Regions from separate parts of the Homo sapiens genome. Here all the other regions are linked to region 3. The links are contacts of gene promoters, found by promoter capture Hi-C in human tissues and cell types (Jung and others, 2019). All regions are on one chromosome and are shown on one strand. The core of a region is centred on a gene start or on the middle of the fragment in contact, and the rest is flanking DNA. Distances in the headings are between cores, read along the strand shown.

Evidence for each region. The method cuts DNA at HindIII sites, captures the fragments that hold promoters and counts their contacts. A contact is called where the count stands out against the background at its distance.
Region 1: the fragment with the promoter of NSRP1 here is called in contact with the fragment with the promoter of CORO6 in region 3 in 3 of the 25 tissues and cell types used here (IMR-90 fibroblasts, dorsolateral prefrontal cortex and hippocampus).
Region 2: a contact is called between a fragment that was not itself captured here and the fragment with the promoter of CORO6 in region 3, in 1 of the 25 tissues and cell types used here (hippocampus).
Region 4: a contact is called between a fragment that was not itself captured here and the fragment with the promoter of CORO6 in region 3, in 2 of the 25 tissues and cell types used here (dorsolateral prefrontal cortex and pancreas).
Region 5: a contact is called between the fragment with the promoter of NUFIP2 here and the fragment with the promoter of CORO6 in region 3, in 1 of the 25 tissues and cell types used here (adrenal gland).
Region 6: a fragment that was not itself captured here is called in contact with the fragment with the promoter of CORO6 in region 3 in 1 of the 25 tissues and cell types used here (lymphoblastoid cells).

What each region holds. Positions count from the first base shown.
Region 1 is chr17:30,115,304-30,118,179 of GRCh38, reverse strand. It overlaps NSRP1 (nuclear speckle splicing regulatory protein 1), which reads right to left and starts at 1,364. Exons shown (of 7, transcript NM_032141.4): 1 at 1,317-1,364; 2 at 7-100. The coding sequence starts at 1,336. It overlaps MIR423 (microRNA 423), which reads right to left and starts at 1,101; the gene lies at 1,008-1,101. MIR3184 (microRNA 3184) reads left to right here and starts at 1,020; the gene lies at 1,020-1,094. RefSeq lists silencers at 932-1,001, 938-1,539 and enhancers at 1,252-1,351, 1,382-1,481, 1,502-1,621, 654-1,853. The HindIII fragment of the contact is 9,957 bases long and covers 1-2,876 here.
Region 2 is chr17:29,357,639-29,360,642 of GRCh38, reverse strand. No RefSeq gene overlaps it. Among named protein-coding and RNA genes, the nearest start is that of TAOK1, 31 kb to the left of the region's middle. RefSeq lists an enhancer at 2,724-2,793. The HindIII fragment of the contact is 4,445 bases long and covers 1-3,004 here.
Region 3 is chr17:29,621,240-29,624,246 of GRCh38, reverse strand. It overlaps CORO6 (coronin 6), which reads left to right and starts at 1,335. Exons shown (of 11, transcript NM_032854.4): 1 at 1,335-1,559; 2 at 2,763-3,007. The coding sequence starts at 2,826. RefSeq lists an enhancer at 1-734 and a silencer at 1,522-1,671. The HindIII fragment of the contact is 11,130 bases long and covers 1-3,007 here.
Region 4 is chr17:29,884,667-29,887,426 of GRCh38, reverse strand. The region is part of intron 1 of SSH2 (slingshot protein phosphatase 2); the gene reads left to right. Among named protein-coding and RNA genes, the nearest start is that of SSH2, 44 kb to the left of the region's middle. The HindIII fragment of the contact is 5,413 bases long and covers 1-2,760 here.
Region 5 is chr17:29,292,753-29,295,895 of GRCh38, reverse strand. It overlaps NUFIP2 (nuclear FMR1 interacting protein 2), which reads left to right and starts at 1,748. Exons shown (of 4, transcript NM_020772.3): 1 at 1,748-2,113. The coding sequence starts at 1,837. RefSeq lists enhancers at 1,380-1,579, 1,890-1,989, 1,683-2,443 and silencers at 2,150-2,269, 2,900-3,079. The HindIII fragment of the contact is 16,686 bases long and covers 1-3,143 here.
Region 6 is chr17:30,078,085-30,081,248 of GRCh38, reverse strand. EFCAB5 (EF-hand calcium binding domain 5) reads right to left here. Exons shown (of 23, transcript NM_198529.4): 15 at 2,745-3,034; 16 at 1,008-1,177; 17 at 268-496. Among named protein-coding and RNA genes, the nearest start is that of NSRP1, 37 kb to the left of the region's middle. The HindIII fragment of the contact is 7,904 bases long and covers 1-3,164 here.

The DNA of each region.
Region 1 (2,876 bases), core at 115-2,614, 490 kb before region 3:
CCTTACCTCATCATCATCATCAGAATCATTCCCAAACACTGATGGTTTTTGCAAAACAGGGTGCAACTGCTGTGTTTTCTTTGGCAAAATAAGCCCATACCTGCATATATTTTTTTTGAAATAGAAATTAAACCTTTATGTTTAAATGTTAACAAATACATCTACTACCTCTTCCACATGAAGCTACCAAATCAAAACATGTCATAAGCTTTATGAACACGTAACAGACTGTTTTTGCTTCTCAGTGATCTCAAAATTCTAACATGCCGTAAGATTCTATAATTACTACTCTAAGTGATCATTTGTGGACACGGGCCAAACTCGAATACCATTTTTATCAAAGAAGAGAAGTAAATGAAAAGTTCAGAAATGTTTTAAGATGGCGAAGTGACAGTAACATTTAAAAAAAAAAAAAAAAAACATGTGTAGTGGAAAGTTTAGTTCATGTCCACTAAAGATTTTAAAATGCTTTCAACTATCCTTGTGGTCTAAACAGTCAAGAAAATGGCTAGATTTTTTTTCCTACTGTGTACTTACACAGTTTCTAAGAACTGACTGGATAGTGTAACTCACGAAAATTTTTAAAAGATAACTGAGAAACCCAAGTAGCCATGGGGCAAGTTCGCATTACACTTTATTAAGATCATGTGCTTTGCCTCGGAGCATCTGAGAGAACCATCCCATCAGATCCAACTCCTTTAGTTTCTCACGTTTTGGCCTTTAAGATGCGGAGATCACGGGAGGCCGCATCAAAAGTAAGGATTACACATCAAAGGTAAAACTTTCAAGTACGTACAGTATTTGTCTCTTTTGCGGCAACGTATACCCCAATTTCCTATATGCCTACCCTTTTTCTGTGGCTTCTCAGAACAATATTCCTAAAACGAGAAGGAAGGGCGGGAATCAGGACTTGAGCTTCTGCCAAGGAGAACAAGGCCCTCTAAGGAAGCCAGGAACTGTCTCTCTTCACACTGCCCCTGAGAGCATCCAAGCGGGGAGAAACTCAAGCGCGGGTTAGGAAGCAAGACTGAGGGGCCTCAGACCGAGCTTTTGGAAAATAGAAAAGTCTCGCTCTCTGCCCCTCAGCCTAACTTCCTTTATTTCCTCACAAGTTTCTCCCTCAAACTTCGGGCTTCCATCCGGGAAAATGTACGGGGGAGGGGAATCTATGTTCCTCAGGACTTCTCGTTTTTTCCCGTCTCTACCCTTGACGACACAGTCCCTTCACTTCCAGCGCATTTAAAACTCCTCGGCCAAAGATACAGTCGCCGTAGTTTCTCATCCCCCAGCCTGACCCTAACTCCCGGATCACTCACTGCCTGCCCGGAATCGCCATCTTGCTCCCGTGTCCGCTGAACGTGGCCGACGCCTCCGTGACGCTGACGCCGATGTCGTCACGTAAACTCTCGCGCGGCTTTGGGTGGCCCGGATCCTGCTTGTCGGTTGAATCGCTGGTTTGAGTCACTTCTATGGTACTGGGAATCGGATCCAGTGACCTCTGTTTTGTTTCGGAGCCCACCGGCTGCCTCAAAATCTGTAGGAGAAAGGAATGACAACGTTCTAGGCCAGTTGTTCGCAGTGTGTGGTTCTGGGACCAGCGGCATCAGCAACACCGGAGATACTGTTAAAATGACAAATTCTCGGGCCCTACCCCAAACCTGCAGAATCAGAAACTTTGGAGTGAAGCGAGTTATCTGAATTTTAACCAGCGGGTAATTCTGATAAAGTTTGAAAACCACTGCCATGGCTATCGATATTCCCCCTACCCCCTTCCAAGTGTTCACTTTAACTGGTTCAGGATAATTAGGCGAAAAATGAAAATCTGTGTATTAATAATACCTTACATAGGACCAAAATTATTATTAAAAAAAAAATTTTTTTTTTGAGACGGAGTTTCGCTCTTGTTGCCCAGGCTAGAGTGCAAAGGCGCGAACTCGGTTACCTCAACCTCCGCCTCCCGGGTTCAAGCGATTCTCCTGCCTCAGCCTCCCGAGTAGCTGGGATTACAGGCATGTGCCACCACGCCCGGCTAAGTTTGTATTTTTAGTAGAGACGGGGTTTCTCCATGTTGGTCAGGCTGGTCTCGAACTCCCGACCTCGGGTGATCCGCCCGACTCGGCCTCCCAAATTGCTGGGATTACAGGCATGAGCCACCGCGCCCGGCCCAAGGACCAAAATTATTAATAATACTGTTCACGGGCCATTGGGTATAGGAATCAGGATCATATATGATACTTTTTTTTTTTTTTTTTTTTTTTTGAGACGTAGTCTCGCTCTTGTCGCCCAGGCTGGAGTGCAGTGGCATAATCTTGGCTCACTGCAACCTCCGCCTCCCAGGTTCAGGCGATTCTCCTGCCTCAGCCTCCTGAGTAGCTGAGATTACAGGCGTCCGCCACCATGCCTGGCTAATTTTTGTATTTTTTTAGTAGAGGCGGGGTTTCACCATGTTGGCCAGGCTGGTCTCAAACTCCTGACCTCATGTGACCCACCCGCCTCAGCCTCCCAAAGTGCTGGGATTACAGGCGTGAGCCACCGTGCCTGGCCCATATATGATACCTTTTTGAAAACTCTGCCCACATCTGTGCACTCATTCACTCTTGGTTCATTCCCAGCTAGTCTCAGAGCAGCCAAAGAGATCAATTACTGAGATAAGGATGTTGAAATCTCCAACTATAATTGCGAATTTGCTTCTCCTTTCAATTCTATCAGTTTGTGTCGTGTATTTTGAAATTAGGTATGTAAACATTTAGGATTGTTACGTTCTCTTGCATTAACCTCTACTAACCTCTATAGCATTAAGAAGTGGCCCTCTTTATTCCTTTATTCTTCTTTGTCTGCTTGGTCTGCTATCAATATAACTAGCTTTCTTTTGATTA
Region 2 (3,004 bases), core at 236-2,735, 260 kb after region 3:
TAATTGGATATTATATTAACACATTCATGAGGGCTCCATCCTCATGACCTAAACACCTCCCATTAGGCCCTACCTCCCAACACTGTTGGCGTTGGGGATTGTTTCCAACATGTATTCCTTGGGGAACACATTCAAACCACAGCAGGACCCATATCTGTGCATCGTATTAGATGATAAAACTTTTTTTTTTTTTGAGACAGAGTCTCGCTCTGTCACCCAGGCTGGAGTGCAGTGGCGCGATCTTGGCTCACTGCAACCTCTGCCGCCCAGGTTCAAACGATTCTCCTGCCTCAGCCTCCCAAGTAGCTAGGTTACAGGCACCTGCCACCATGCCTGGCTAATTTTTGTAGTTTTAGCAGAGACAGGGTTTCACCATCTTGGCCAGGCTGGTTTTGAACTCCTGACCTTGTGATCCACCCACCTCAGCCTCCTGAAGTGCTGGGATTACAGGCATAAGCCACCGCACCCAGCCAATAAAACATTTTTATATTTTATTTTGCTTTATTTGTCTTTGTATCTTCTATAGTACCCATTTTCAAGAAATATATATTGAGGATCTGTTCTGCTCAGAAATGGAATAGAATTTGTATGTTTTAACCAGGTCAAAGTCCATTCATAAACTTAACATTTATTGTCTTATTGCTGTATGAGAATACTGTGACAGATAGGAAGTGTAAAGGGTTGGACCAACATTACTCTTACAGGAGATGAGAATCTGTGGGTAATTTTTTTTTTTTTTGAGACAGTCTCGCTCTGTTGCCCAGGCTGGAGTACAGTGGCACGATCTCGGCTCACTGCAGCCTCTGCCTCCCAGGTTCAAGCAGTTCTCCCACCTCAGCCTCCCTAGTAACTGGGATTACACACAGCTAATTTTTGTATTTTTGTAGAGACGGGGTTTCACCATGTTGGCCACCTCGTCATGAACTCCTGACCTCCGGTGATTTGTCCACCTCGGCCTCCCAAAGTGCTGGGATTACAGGCATGAGCCACCGCGCCTGGCCTTACTTTTTTTTTTTTTTTGAGACAGTTTCACTCTGTTGCCCAGGCTGGAGTGCAGTGGAGTGATCTCAGCTCACTGCAACCTCTGCCTCCTGGGTTCAAATGATTCTCCTGCCTCAGCCTCTTGAGTAGCTGGGATTATAGACGCCCACCACCTCGCCTGGCTAGTTTATATATATATATATATATATTTTTTTTTTTTTTTTTTTTTTTTTTTTGAGAGGAAGTCTCGCTCTGTCACCCAGGCTGGAGTGCAATGGCACGATCTCAGCTCACTGCAACCTCTGCCTCCTGGGTTCAAGCAATTCTCCTGTCTCAGCCTCCCGAGTAGCTGGGATTACAGGCATGCGCCACCACTCCTGGCTAATTTTTTGTATTTTTAATACAGACGGGGTTTCACCATGTTGGCCAGGCTGGTCTTGAACTCCTGACCTCAGGTGATCCACCCATCTTGGGCTTCTAAAGCGCTGGGATTACAGGCATGAGCCACCATGCCTGGCCGATAAATTTTTTGAAATGGTAAATTTGGATCATAAAATAACAGGGCATTTTAGATTAGAAGAAGAGTATACTTAAAAGCAGAGAGGTGGCCAGGCACGACGGCTCATGTCTGTAATCTCAGCACTTTGGGAGGTCTCCTTTTGGGAGGCCAAGGCAGGCAGTTTGCCTGAGCTTAGGAGTTTAAACCAGCCTGGGCAACATGGTGAAACCCCGTCTCTACAAAAAACACAAAAATTAGCCAGCCTTGATGGCGGGCACCTGGAGTCCCAGCTACTTGGGAGTCTGAGGTGGGAGGATTGCTCGAGGAGGTTGAGGCTGCGGTGAGCTGTGATGGCACCACAGCACTCCAGCCTGGGTGATACAGGGAGACCCTGTCTCAAAAAAATAAATAAATAAAAAGCAGAGAGGCAAGAATGTGTATGGCATGTTTGGGAAACATTGGTTGAGTGGCATTTACTTTGTAGTCATGAGTTCTCACCAAAGAAGATATATGGATGGCTAACAAATGTAGTAGAAGATATTCAACAGCATTAGTCATTAGGGAAATGCCAACTGAAACCACAGAGATACCACTTCACATTCACTAGAATGGTTATAATTAAAAAGACCGACAATGCCAAATGTGTATGAGGTTATGGAGAAATTAGAACCTTCATGCATTGTTAGTGGGAATATAAAATGATACTGCCACTTTGGAAAATAGTTTTGGAGTTTCTTTAAAAGTTCAACATAGGCCAGGAGTGGTGGCTCAAGCCTCTAATCCCAGCACTTTGGGAGGCTGAGGCGGGCAGATCACGAGGTCAGGAGATCGAGACCATCCTGGCTAACACAGTGAAATCCCATCTCTACTAAAAATACAAAAAATTAGCCGGGCCCGGTGGCACGCACCTGTAGTCCCAGCTACTTGGGAGGCTGAGGCAGGAGAATTGCTTGAACCCAGGAGGCAGAGGTTGCAGTGAGCCGAGATTGCGCCACTGCACTCTAGCCTGGGCGATAGAGTGAGACTCCATCTCGAAAAAAAAAAAAGTTCAACATAAACTTACTCTATGACTCAGCAATTTCACTCCTAGGTACTGCTCAAGAGAAATGAAAATATATGACCACACAGAAGCTTGTATGTGAATGTTCACAACAGCATTATTCATAATAGCCAAAAAGTGGAAACGACCCAAATGGTGAATGGAACAAAACACAGTATATTTGTACAACAGAATATTGTTCAGCCATAAGAAGGAATGAATGACTGACACACTATACAACATGGATGAACTTCAAAAACATCATGCTAAATGAAAAAAGCCAGACACAAAGATTCTATTTACATGCAATGTAGGATTCCATTTATGTAAGTTCCACAAAAGGCAACTCTATAGAGACAGAAAGCTGATTAGTAGTTGTCTGGGGCTAGGGTTGGGAGCAGGAATTGACTGCAAATGAGCACAAGGGAACTTTTTGGGGTGAGGAAAATATTCTAAAAACTGAATTGTGGTGATAGTTGCACAAC
Region 3 (3,007 bases), core at 86-2,585:
CCAGTGCCTAGCACATAAGCATGGGTTATTGTTGTAAAGGAGCAACTGAGTCACTCAGGTATTTTCCTCCTAATCATGTGCCTGGAATCTTTAGGTAAAAGAGAGATGACTCACATACCCTCATACCCTGCCCCAGCACCCCTACGCCAGGAGTTATTTCTGGAGCACTCGTAACAGTTTTTTATTCTGTTCCCCTACAAGCCACTGACTCTTGATTTGATTCTGTCCCTACAAGCCACCTGGACTCTTCCTGAGAAACAAAGGAGCCTCGTGGGCCCTTCATGGTTTCTACCACCTTCCCTCCCTTTCCTCCCCAGTGCTGGTTCCTGCCCTTCAGAAGGCTGTGTTCCATTCACTCACTCCCAGGTGTGCCCTGGAGGGTGGGAAGTAATAACTGGCCCCAGATGCCCTTATGATCCAAGGGAAGAAATCCAGGCAATGTGCAGACACTGGGTAGACTGGAGCTACGGGACTGGCTGGTCTTCACTGGCTGTATTTTGATCAGGTTATCTTTAATCTCCTTGACCTCGGTCAACATTCAGTTCTGTGAATATTGGGGGAGACGGGGGAAGCTTACCTGGAACACAGTCGGGCGCCAATTCAAACAAGGCCCAGAAAACATTAGGAGTCTGGCCTCTGAGTTGGCTTCTCTGACCCCTAAAATGTGACTAGAGACCGGTGCTAGCCTCTTCCCCCTGCATCTGGGAGGGGAGGGAGTGTCAAGGTGGGTTCACTTTACACTCGGTCCTCCCCTTGTTCTTTCAGCTGCTTCCTGCCCTGCTCCATGGAATCTCATCTAATGGGGTGAAATGCCTAGCACACAGCCAGCATTTTAGGTTTCTCAAATGATCGCTATTGCCATTCATAACAATAACTAACATTCACAACCCTGTGTCGGGTGCCCTCTCACTTGCCCTACATCAGGATCAGCCTGGGTCCTCATTCTCTAGGGCCTCTTTCCCCCAGGGAGGCCTGGAAGTGCAGTCCCGCAGTCCCGGCCGATCGGGACAGCTAAATTGGGAGCGCGATTGAGGCTGGAATGCGGGTGGAGGCACCTGGTCTCCCTCGGCTGCCCGCTCTAGGGGCGCACGCCCCCTCGCCCGTTCCCTCTCCAAGCGTCCTGCTCTAGGTCTGCGAACCCGAGCCTCCCCAGCCTACCCGGGAGTCATGGAGGGAGGGAAGCAGCGTGCGCACCTAGCACACAGCTGCACATTTATTTTCGATGGTTCTCCGAGGCCGGCGGAAGCTGGGAGGGGAGTCGGGGTCGCTCGACTTTCCCGCCGCTGGAGGGGGCGGGGCAACTTGGGCTCTGGCCCCGCCCCTATGCTAGCCCCGCCCTCTTAGGTTGATGGCAGCGGCAGCTGGGGCTGCAGCGGCGCCGGGCTCTAGAGAGCCGCAGGATCGGCCAGAGTGCGGAGCTGGACACCCGGGTCCCAGATACTACAGACACCCGGAGAGGTGGCTCCTTCGCCCTGAAGCCTTCCTCGGCCCCCTACGCACTCGGGCCCCTTCCGCAGAGGATTCGCAGCGTGAGCGCCCCGCAGCCCGCTCAGGACCAGGTACCCAGCCCCCCACACCCGGCCGTCACCGCAGCCAGCGGAGCGGGCGGGGTCCCTGAGGGGCAGAGGTCTGCGCCTCCTCCCCCCGCGCCGCCAAATTCGGTTTCGGGCGGGGAGGACGTGGTGTCTATATTTGGCCGGACAGCAGCCAGCGCTCCCGGAGGGCGCAGACACCTCGTCTCGCAAGAACGCAGTGTCAGGGCAGCAGGCTGAAGAAGGGTGCAGGGAGGCCGGGCCTCAGGCTCGGGGCCGCAGACGCGCCTTGAAGGGCACACGGATGCTGGGGCTGGGGTGGGGCAGGAGCCACTGGCTGGGGCTTTGGGAGTGCTCAGTGTGTCCTCTAGGGAGACCCTAGCTGGAGAAAAGGCACCTCACCCTCCCCACCCCTGCAAATCTGGCTTGGCCGTGGCGGGGGCAGGGGTGGAGGATGGGGTTGAAGACCCCACCCCTAGAAGAGTTCACTAGGAAGAAGGCCCAACCAGGGCAGAGGACCCAGAGGAGAAACCGGACAAGCCTATGGTAGGCAAAAGCCAGAAGACCATGATCAGGGCTTCCTGGAGAAGCCAGTGCAGAAAGGAGTGGGAGAAGAGGGATCCACCTCACTCTGTGCTGCCACCCGTCCCCCCACAAGGCATGGGATGAAAACAGTAGCAGAAAGGACTCAGATTGGTGGACAGGAGGAACTTCCCCCTTGGCAAAATTTTAGGAAAAGGCAAAACCCCATCTGCCTGAACTATTCCAGAGATGCGAGTTCGGTATCCTGTGGTGGCTGCAGTCTTGGCCCCATACCTGGCTTTAAGCCAAGATCCAATGGTCAAGTCTTCTGCTTCTGGACAGGGTGCCTCTGGGAGCTACAACCACGTCCGTGAAGAGATGCTCATCAAGGCTGGCGGTGGTGGGGGCGGGGGGTGCAGGCAGTGTGGCATTGAGGCTCCTCCCAAAAACATTCCAACGTCCAGAAAGCTTTCAGTCTGTTAGGCTCCACAATCCCCTCAGCCTGGGTCTCTGTGGAGAATTCAGGCCCCAAATCCTAGCCACTTACATTAAACAGCATTTTACACAGCAAAATAACTTTCCCATACTTTGACCACCTTGAAGAAAGCTCCCTGCTTCTAGGACCAGACACTATATGGATTTATACCTGACTCCTGACCACATAACCCTTCTCATCAGCCACCCCTCCACTCCTCCTCCCTCCCGCAGCTCACAGGACTAAGGACCAAAGGCATTTCTGGGCACTGAGATCCTACCTCTCTGCCTGCAGCTATGAGCAGACGTGTGGTTCGGCAAAGCAAGTTCCGCCATGTGTTTGGGCAGGCAGCAAAGGCCGACCAGGCCTACGAGGACATCCGTGTGTCCAAGGTCACATGGGACAGCTCCTTCTGTGCCGTCAACCCCAAATTCCTGGCCATTATTGTGGAGGCTGGAGGCGGGGGTGCCTTCATCGT
Region 4 (2,760 bases), core at 133-2,632, 260 kb before region 3:
ATTCCATGTCATTTTTGATGGGTCTAGGAAATAGGACCTAGGAAATACACCTAAAGTACTCTGTTTTGTTTTTGTTTATTCTTACTAAAGCTCAAGTTTATCCTCTATTGATCCTCACTAAATAATTTCGTAGTTATAATATCTAAGATGTACAAAAATTTCTATGCCTGCTCCAAGATTTTTTTTTATTGTGTTCTATGCTAATAGCTTGCTTTTATAACACTACTACTGATCTCAAGTATTAAGTTGTTAACAAAATATCCTCTATAGGCATATAATTAAATAAGATAGGTGGCCCCAAAGTAGTATAAGCTGCATGATGTTGAAGAAATTACATTGGCTCGATAGGAGAGCCATTCATCTGGCTTTGCTACCACTTAACTCTGGCTCTGGTCAATCTTTTCATCTTTCTAGTCCTGGTTTTCTTATCCGAGAAAAAAATCTTTAATCTCTAAGGTCCTGTCCAGCTTTAGCACTTAAGGATACCACATACTCTTGGTAAAGTGTCTTCAGAACTGTGTAATAGAAGTTGAAGGAGCGCTATAATTGGTGATTAACATTCAGCCCCTTGTTACTTATGCAACTTCTTCAGCAGGCTTGAATTTCTCCCCAGAAAATGGGTTATTTTCTATCACATCATCAGTCTGCAAATTTTTCAAACTTTTTTTTTTTTTTTTTTTGAGATGGAGTCTTTCTCTGTCGCCCAGGCTGGAGTGCAGTGGCATGATCTTGGCTCACTGCAACCTCCACCGCCTGGGTTCAAGCAATTCTCCTGTCTCAGCCTCCCGAGTAGTTGGGACTACAGGTGCACGCTACCATGCCTGACTAATTTTTGTATTTTTAGTAGAGACAGAGTTTCACCATATTGGTCAGGCTGGTCCCAAACTCCTGACCTCAGGTGGTCCATCCACCTCAGCCTCCCAAAGTGCTGGGATTACAGGTGTGAGCCACGACACCCGGCCATTTTCCAAACTTTTATGCGCTGCTTCTTCTTGAACACTTTGCCACTTAGAAATTTCTTCCACCAGATACCTAAATCATCTCTCTCAAGTTCAAAGTTCCACAGAACTCTATGGCAGGGGCAAAATGCCACCAGTCTCTTTGCTAAAACATAGCAAGAGTCACCTTTGCTCCAGTTCCCAAGTTCCTTATCTCCATCTGAGACCACCTCAGCCTGGACCTTATTGTCCATATCGCTATGAGCATTTTGGTCAAAGCCATTCAACAAGTCTCTAGGAAGTTACAAACTTTCCCATATCTTCCTGTCTTCTGAGCCCTCCAAGTTTCTAGGAAGTTCCAAACTTTCCCACATTTTTCTGTCTTCTTCCGGGTCCTCGAAACTGTTCCAACCTCTGCCTGCTACTCAGTTCCAAAGTTGCTTCCACATTTTCGGGTATCTTTATAGCAGTGCCCCACTACCTGGTACCTATTTACTGTATTAGTCTGTTCTCACGCTGCTAATAAAGACATACCTGAGACTGGGTAATTTATAAAGGAAAGAGTTTTAATGGACTCACAGTTCCACATGGCTGGGGAGGCCTCACAATCATGGTGGAAGAATAAGGAAGAGCAAAAGGACATCTTACATGGCGGCAGGCAAGAGAGCCATGTGCAGGGGAAATCCACTTTATAAAACCATCAGATCTCGTGAGACTTGCTATCACCAGAACAGCACAGGAAAAACCAGCCTCCATGATTCAATTACCTCCCACTGGCTCCCTCCCATCACATGTGGGAATTATGGGAGCTACAATTCAAGATGAGATTTAGGTGGGTACATACCCAAACCATATCAGTAAGCATTATTGATTAAATCATTGGTCATTGGTAACTGACTCAATCTCCACTCCTTCCCTGGTTATGTGATGGAGCTGAAAATTACAAGCTTCTAATCAAGGATTGGTGTTTCTGGTGACTAGCTCCCATCCTAAAGCTATCTAGGGGCCAGCCAAGAGACACTTCCTTAAAACTAAAGATGCTTCTATCACTCGTGTCACTCAGGAAATTCCAAGGGTTTTAGGAGCTCTGTGTCAGGAACTGGGGAAAAAGACCTGATTTTTTTTTTTTTTTTTTTTTTTATGATACAATAGCAAGAAACCCCAGTCTTTGGTTAATAAGAGTTAAAAGTTAGTACCTGCTTGATAGAAAAAAAGCATAATATGCAATAGGTTGCATAAGACTTGGTGAGAAGAAAGAGGAACAGCAAAAGCATGGAAGCCAGAGACACTTGGATAAGTGTAAATGAATTCAGTACTCTAGATAATAAAGCACGTGATGGGAGAAAAAGGGAGGTGCTAGATTAGAGAACTAAGTAGGCAAGAGCCAAGACCTTGGAGGCTTTTTATGCCTTGGTAAGAAATTTAAACTTAAACTTTAGCCCGTACTCAGGCTTTACATTGCATCAGAATAAGTTGAAAAATATGTAAAAATGCAGATTGACCCAGGAATATGCATCTTTACAAGCATCCACAGGTAACCCTGACACAAAAAATACTGCTTTTGGCAGTGAGGAACATAAAAGTTTTATGTAGAGATGTAAGGTCAGAGTTACAATTTAGAGTGGATTGTTGCAGTTGCCAAGTCCTGGAACTAACATAGACTCAAACTAAGGCAGTTGTGGTTGGGATAGACAGGATGAGATAGATTACAGAAATATATAAAAAGTGAAGTGGTAGAGGCCTGATGATGGATTATGAGGTGAAATAAAGATAGAAGACTGGTTAACTCTTGAAGACTTTGAGCTTGGTTGGGCTGAGTAGA
Region 5 (3,143 bases), core at 499-2,998, 330 kb after region 3:
CAGGATTCAATGACATTTGTTATTGGAAACCAGCTTTTACGTTTTAAATAAGCTTTTGCATTGACATTCATTAATTTCATAGCATAAACTTTTTGCTTTCAAGCTTCTTGTTCCTTTAATGTTGTCCTGTTGTAGGAATTCAAGCCACATTTTAAAAATTCAAAAACGTAACATACATTGAGGAAACAGTCCATATGTCCGTTGCTGAGTGAATGAACAAAATGTGGTATATACATATAATGGAATATTAGTCAGCCTTAAAAAAGAGGGAAATTCTGATGTATGCTACTCTGAAGACATTATGCAAAAAAGCTAGTCACAAAAAGACAAATACAGTACAATCCCACTTATATGAGGTACCTAGAATAGTCAAGTTCGTAGAGACAGAAAACAGAACAGTGGTTATCAAGGGATGGAAGGAGGAGGGAAAGGACATTTATTTTTATTGGGTATGAAGTTTCAGTTTGGAATGATGAAAAAGTTCTGGAGATAGATGATGGTCATGGTTCTACAACAATACGAATGTACCTAATGCACCTGAACCATACACTTAATATTAAGATGGTAAATTTTATATTATGAATATTTTACAATTAAAAAAATCCCCCAATCTATAACATACATTGGGAAAAGTGCATTTTATCTGTATATTCAGTTTAACAAATAATTACTAAGCAAATATATGTAATCACCACCTAGCCCCCAAAATGAAATATTATCAGAGTAACCTGTGTCCCTCCCCATCACAACCCTCTTCCTTCCTGAGTAACCACTATCATGGCTCTAACATTTGCTTTTGAAAATCATATACTGTGATGTGGTAATGCAGGATAAGTTAAATCTACACTACAAAACGCTACAGAATATTTCTTTTAATTTCAATTTTTCCATAAGTGCCAAAAAAAAAAAAAACAAACCCACTTAATAACTTTTAAGTGCTCTTTCTCCCCTTCCTTTGCTCTTGAAACTTCTCATTCTAAAACCTATTTTGGTTCCACAGTTGACCTCACCTGCAGAGTTTAATTAAAAAAAAAAAAACCTTCAGTGTAAATTTTCATTCCTCCTGCTCTCCCTTGCCTCCAACTACAAAGAAACAATGATTTAAACCCTTTGTGCCCTTTTAGAAAATTACACAGATACCCCATTGTGGAACCCTATAATCCCTTCGTGGAAAGGAAGAGATTAGCATATGAATACAAAGCAAAATGAATCCAGAATACAAAATGATCTACTGGATTGTGAAGCTCTTGTATGCTTAAAAATGTATTTATTTCCTCTTTTTGTATTGCCCCTTTAGTGGTCTCGGGGTTAAGGGAATTGAGCTTCCCTTTCTGGTTACCCGGAAAAGGATTAAAAACAAAACAAAACAAAAAACAAAAAAACACCAGATTCTAAGAGGTGCAAAGCCAGCAGATGGCTCACAGCACCAGTGGAATCGCCAGTGGAATCTGCTACCCTCGACACGAGCCTGCTTGCCGGCGAGGAGTGTAGAAAGTGCTGTTCACAGACTGCGTGGTGAAGGAGAGAAAGCGACAGAAGAGAGAGCCATAGTGCTGACGTTGAAGGCCCGGCCCTGTGAGGTTGCACAGGGTAAGTGGCGTTGGCCAGGCGGCAGCGGCGAAGGGGAAGGAAAGAGGATTTGAGCTGGGGGCGGGGCTTGCGGCACAGCGTGGCTCCTGATTGTTGGAGTGCGGCTGCCAATCTCGCAGAATCGCTCGGTTAACCAGTGCGCTGGCGAGACGCGCTCAGATATACTGAGTGAGCCCTGAGAAGCAGTCTCAGATCCTGACGGTGCAGCAGCCCGCAGCCTCAGCCAGGGAGTCCCAGCCGCTTTCAATGGAGGAGAAGCCCGGCCAGCCACAGCCTCAGCACCATCACAGCCACCACCATCCGCACCATCACCCTCAGCAGCAGCAGCAGCAGCCGCACCACCACCACCATTATTATTTCTACAACCACAGCCACAACCACCACCACCACCATCATCACCAGCAGCCTCACCAATACCTGCAGCATGGAGCCGAGGGCAGCCCCAAGGCCCAGCCAAAGCCGCTGAAACATGAGCAGAAACACACCCTCCAGCAGCACCAGGAAACGCCGAAGAAGAAAACAGGTCTGGGAGGGAGGACGGGTGGGGGAAGGGGGTTGGGGGTGGAGGACAGGAGAGATGGGGGTGGGGCTGGATCCGAAAAGCGCGGACGGGGTCGGGGTGTGTGTGTGTGTGTCCCCTCCGGCTCTGGGGATGCCCCTTTCATTCTAGAGCTCGGGCTGAGCAATGGGGTTTGCAGCGCCCTCTCCTTCCCTCCAGCATGGGAGAGGCCCAGCCAGGCCAGCGTGACCTTCCTGGCCCCGGCCCCGGCTGAAGGGAGACCTGCTGGGTCGGCCTTGCAAGTCCAACCTCATTATTCTTTTCCCATTCACCTCCCTGCGTCCCTGGAGTTACCTCAATTTGGGGGCCCTGAGATGGGGTAAACCTACCCCCCCAAAAAATCCCTCGAGGTGTAACTCAGGAAGGCCTAGCGAATCCCGACTCGGATGGTGTCGCGAGACCCTTTTGCAGGCGGCGAGGAGTGGGTAGGTAGGGTGAGTTGAGGAAGTGCCCCTCACCCGCCACCCCAAGCCCACCTGTGGCCTTGGGGCTCCCCGTCTCGGTGGGGGGGGCTGTTGGGACCCCTCATCTCACGGGTCATTTCCACCACTAAACGCCCTTTTTGGGCGCCGGACCCCGCAGTCTTGTCCCGCGGCTCCTCCCGAGGCCGGCGCCCCGCGCCCGCTCCCCCCAGAGCCGGCGCGGCTGGAATGTTCTCTCCTCCTCGCGGGGCCGCTTCCTGTCCGCCATGTTGGAAGCCGATTCCTGTCACCGACTCCGGCCCACTGAGGAGCGGAGGGGGAAGGGTGTCGAGGGCCACACGGGGCGGCGGAGCCGGGTGACCCGGGATCACCACCGGCCGCAGCCTCGCCCCCTGCACTGCGGGGGCGCCGGCGCCCCCCGCACCGCGGCCGCCCCCCCCCCCGTCGCCGGCCGGGGTTGTGTAACCCGGTGGCGGCGCGCGGCCCCGGGCGGGTCCCTGGGGTGAGGGGCGGGGGCGGTTGGGGTGGGGGAGGGAAGCGGCCACGAGGGGAGCGGCCTGCGCAGGGCCCCG
Region 6 (3,164 bases), core at 194-2,693, 460 kb before region 3:
TCTGTAGCATAAAATTCTATTCCTGTGATTAATGCTATGGGACACATGAGGCTGAGGCATGGATATGTAACTGAGGCTGAAAGTCCTTCCATAAGTAATGGGGAACTTCTCAAAAGACTGAAACATACATTCAGGGAACAGGAGCAAGTATGATGATGTTATCTGTATACACAGCTTTACTCTCATCGGATTTCAGGTTTCACTCTTTAAAAAGTATTAGAAAGAGAGGCCATCCTACCATCGCTCTTGAAGACTTCTATGACTTACCTGATAGAATCTGATCTCATGAGGTAGAAAGATGTTTATTTCGTGGGGATCTCTAAGGGTATCAACAGCCAAGACCCCAAAGATCCTCATATATGCATCTTGAAGAGGCAGAGCCAGGAATGAACCATTATAATCATGCTTATTACGGGACTGGTTCCAGAAGAAGATGTTCCCATGGTACTGAACTTGGGGAACATGGATTGGCTTCCCTTCATCCACTACTGTAAAGCTGAGGAAAAAGAGTATGAGGATGGAAGAAAGGCACAGGGAGAGATTTAGATTAAACCATGGAGGAAACTAGAGCGATTCTCTATTCACAATCTGTGGCATTATATGACCGAGCAGTGGACTCAGATAAGATGACCAGTTTGGAGGTCTGACTTGAGAAAGACTAAAACAAAAACAAAACAAACAAACAAAAAAAAAAAAAACAAGCTTGGATGTGGACATAGAAAACAAATATAAACAGAACTCCAGAGACATAACTTATGGAGCAGGCAGAAATAATTGAGATGATATTGTGACGCAGAGTCCCCATGTGGCGAATCATTACCAAAGAGCGAGCTCTAGAAATAAGTGAAATCATCCAGGACTGGAAGCCATCAGCTTCTACTCCAGAAGCACTGGTGACTTGAGGCACCTCTCTTTTGAGCAGCTAGCTGGGATCTTGATGCCAGTTTACTCAGAAAGGGAATTATTTTTTTAGGAGGGTGAAACCAATCTCTTCAAGAAGTTCTTACCTGATTCCTTTCATGTCCCTGTAGAGCACTCTGTTCAGTACAAATTGAGCATCATCTAAGGTACAAGCCACATTCCTCAATAGAACATTCCCTTTCTCAGGCAGTAGTAGGTTTTCTTCTAAGAGGGAAATGTGAGCACTGATCTTTTTATTTCCATGGGCTTCAGCATCCTACAGCAAAACGTTTCCGACCATGTGTTTGCCAACAGCCAAAGAACTCCCCTAATCATGTCCCCCTTACTAGTTAATTCATGCATCTTGCCCCAGTAGTTTCATTTTCCTGAATAAAGAATGCATATATTACTATTCATGGGCAGTGGGGAAAAGGTTGACAGCATAGCTATCCTGTAAGTCTGAGTTTCAGTGGGTATAACGGGTTTCTTCTATGCCAACTGGACTGGTTTACCAGAAAAGAAAAACAAAACCAAAAAACTCTCAAGTCTACTCAAATTTAGAGGTTTAAAACTTGGATTCCTTTGACCTATGGTCAACTGTCTGTGTTTCTATTGAAAGTGTTGATTTGAGAGAGAGAGAGCTGGGCCAAGAAGTTGCCTTCACTTCACTCATATTTCTTGACCGTCGACTGTGATGTGAAAGTGAAAAAAAATGCTCTCGAGGAACTCTTAACACACTTTGTATATTTGATCTATGTAATTTCAGGAAGGATTTTTTTGTGGCCCAAGATTGCAGACTTTCTGCAACTACTATTTCTGCAACTATAAATTCTCTGTACCTTAAATATTATTATTATGTTATTAACAATATTATGTGTCAATATATACATTAAACATATCCATAAATTGGGGACATGTGAGACACTTTCCTTGATATTTTTCTCCTCTTTCTATATATTTGGGTTTGCTTTCCATGCCCTTTTCTTTTGCCTTTATTCCTTCTTTCCACATACAAGATCTATGGAGTCATTAACAAATATGTAGCGAGATTTCTCTTAGGATACCACAGACCTCTGAAGCAAGTTAGAACAATGCCTCTTCTTCTTGAGTGGTCTTTTGGTCCCGGTGCCCCATTTCCAACTACACTGGAAAATTCGGCCATTCAGGAGATGATTCAATTGAGCAAGTATCGCTATTTAGCTGAGATGACTGGCATAGGTTCCCTGGATTAGTGGAATCTATGATACATGTAGAAGGCGGCTGTGCTGTTTCTGCCTGTGAATAGCAGCAACCTGGGAGTCTCTGAGGAGGTGGCAAGGCTGTAGGCAGTAGCCCCTCAGGGCCATGCGTTCTAAGTGACAGGATTCTGCAGTAGTCTCAGCTTGCTTCTAGGCAATGCTGTGAAATATTGTGTGGTGTCAGACTCGATAATGAGTTTATGATTTAAATAGTTCCTTTTAAAACTGACTCCCAAAATACCATGCAAGGGAAATGTAGCTTGAACTGCTTGTACATCTCCTTACTGATATTGTTCATAATCTGTCTATTGTCCATTCTAGGCTTATTTGACTCTTAGCAGAAATGAAATTAGAAATCCCAAGACATCTTTTCTACATCTGTCTTTTCTACCTTTCTCCTCTGCTTCTATCTTGTCAACCAGCAGTCACTCCAGTTGTATCTCTCCTAGGCTTTGGGCCATTTGTAATGGACTGGAATGAATAAAATATCTACAGCAGCACCCAGTGATTTTTCAAGAGAATTCAAGATGCTCCTCTTTTGCAAACATTGAACATCGCCTACTTTGAGGAAATGTTTCCTCTTACATACTGCTTTAGGAAACGTACCTGCATGAGGGCCTTAAAGGTCTCACTATACACCGGCTCTAGGGACACCCCACTTGTCTCTGCAGCACATTGGATTTGGTGCAGCCATTTCCGCCTGGCAGAATTCCTCAGACTCTCAATGTGGCTCCTCTCTAAAGCATTCATCAGAAATTCCACAACACTTTCCAGAACTTGGTCTTCATTGCCCCTGAGTTCAGACACAACCAATTCTATGTAATTCTGAAATTGTTTTGAAGACAATCTCACTTCGTGACCAGGGTGTGGCTTTGGAAATTGGATGTGTAGTTTAGCTAAAAGACACAAACACGAAACCAAGAACTAACCAAAAGTTCACTCATTGGTGGGGGGGATTTTCATTCTCCTCTTACGATGAACTGAAGCCCTGGGCAACTGCTCTCCTGGAAAACCAAGTATACCAAA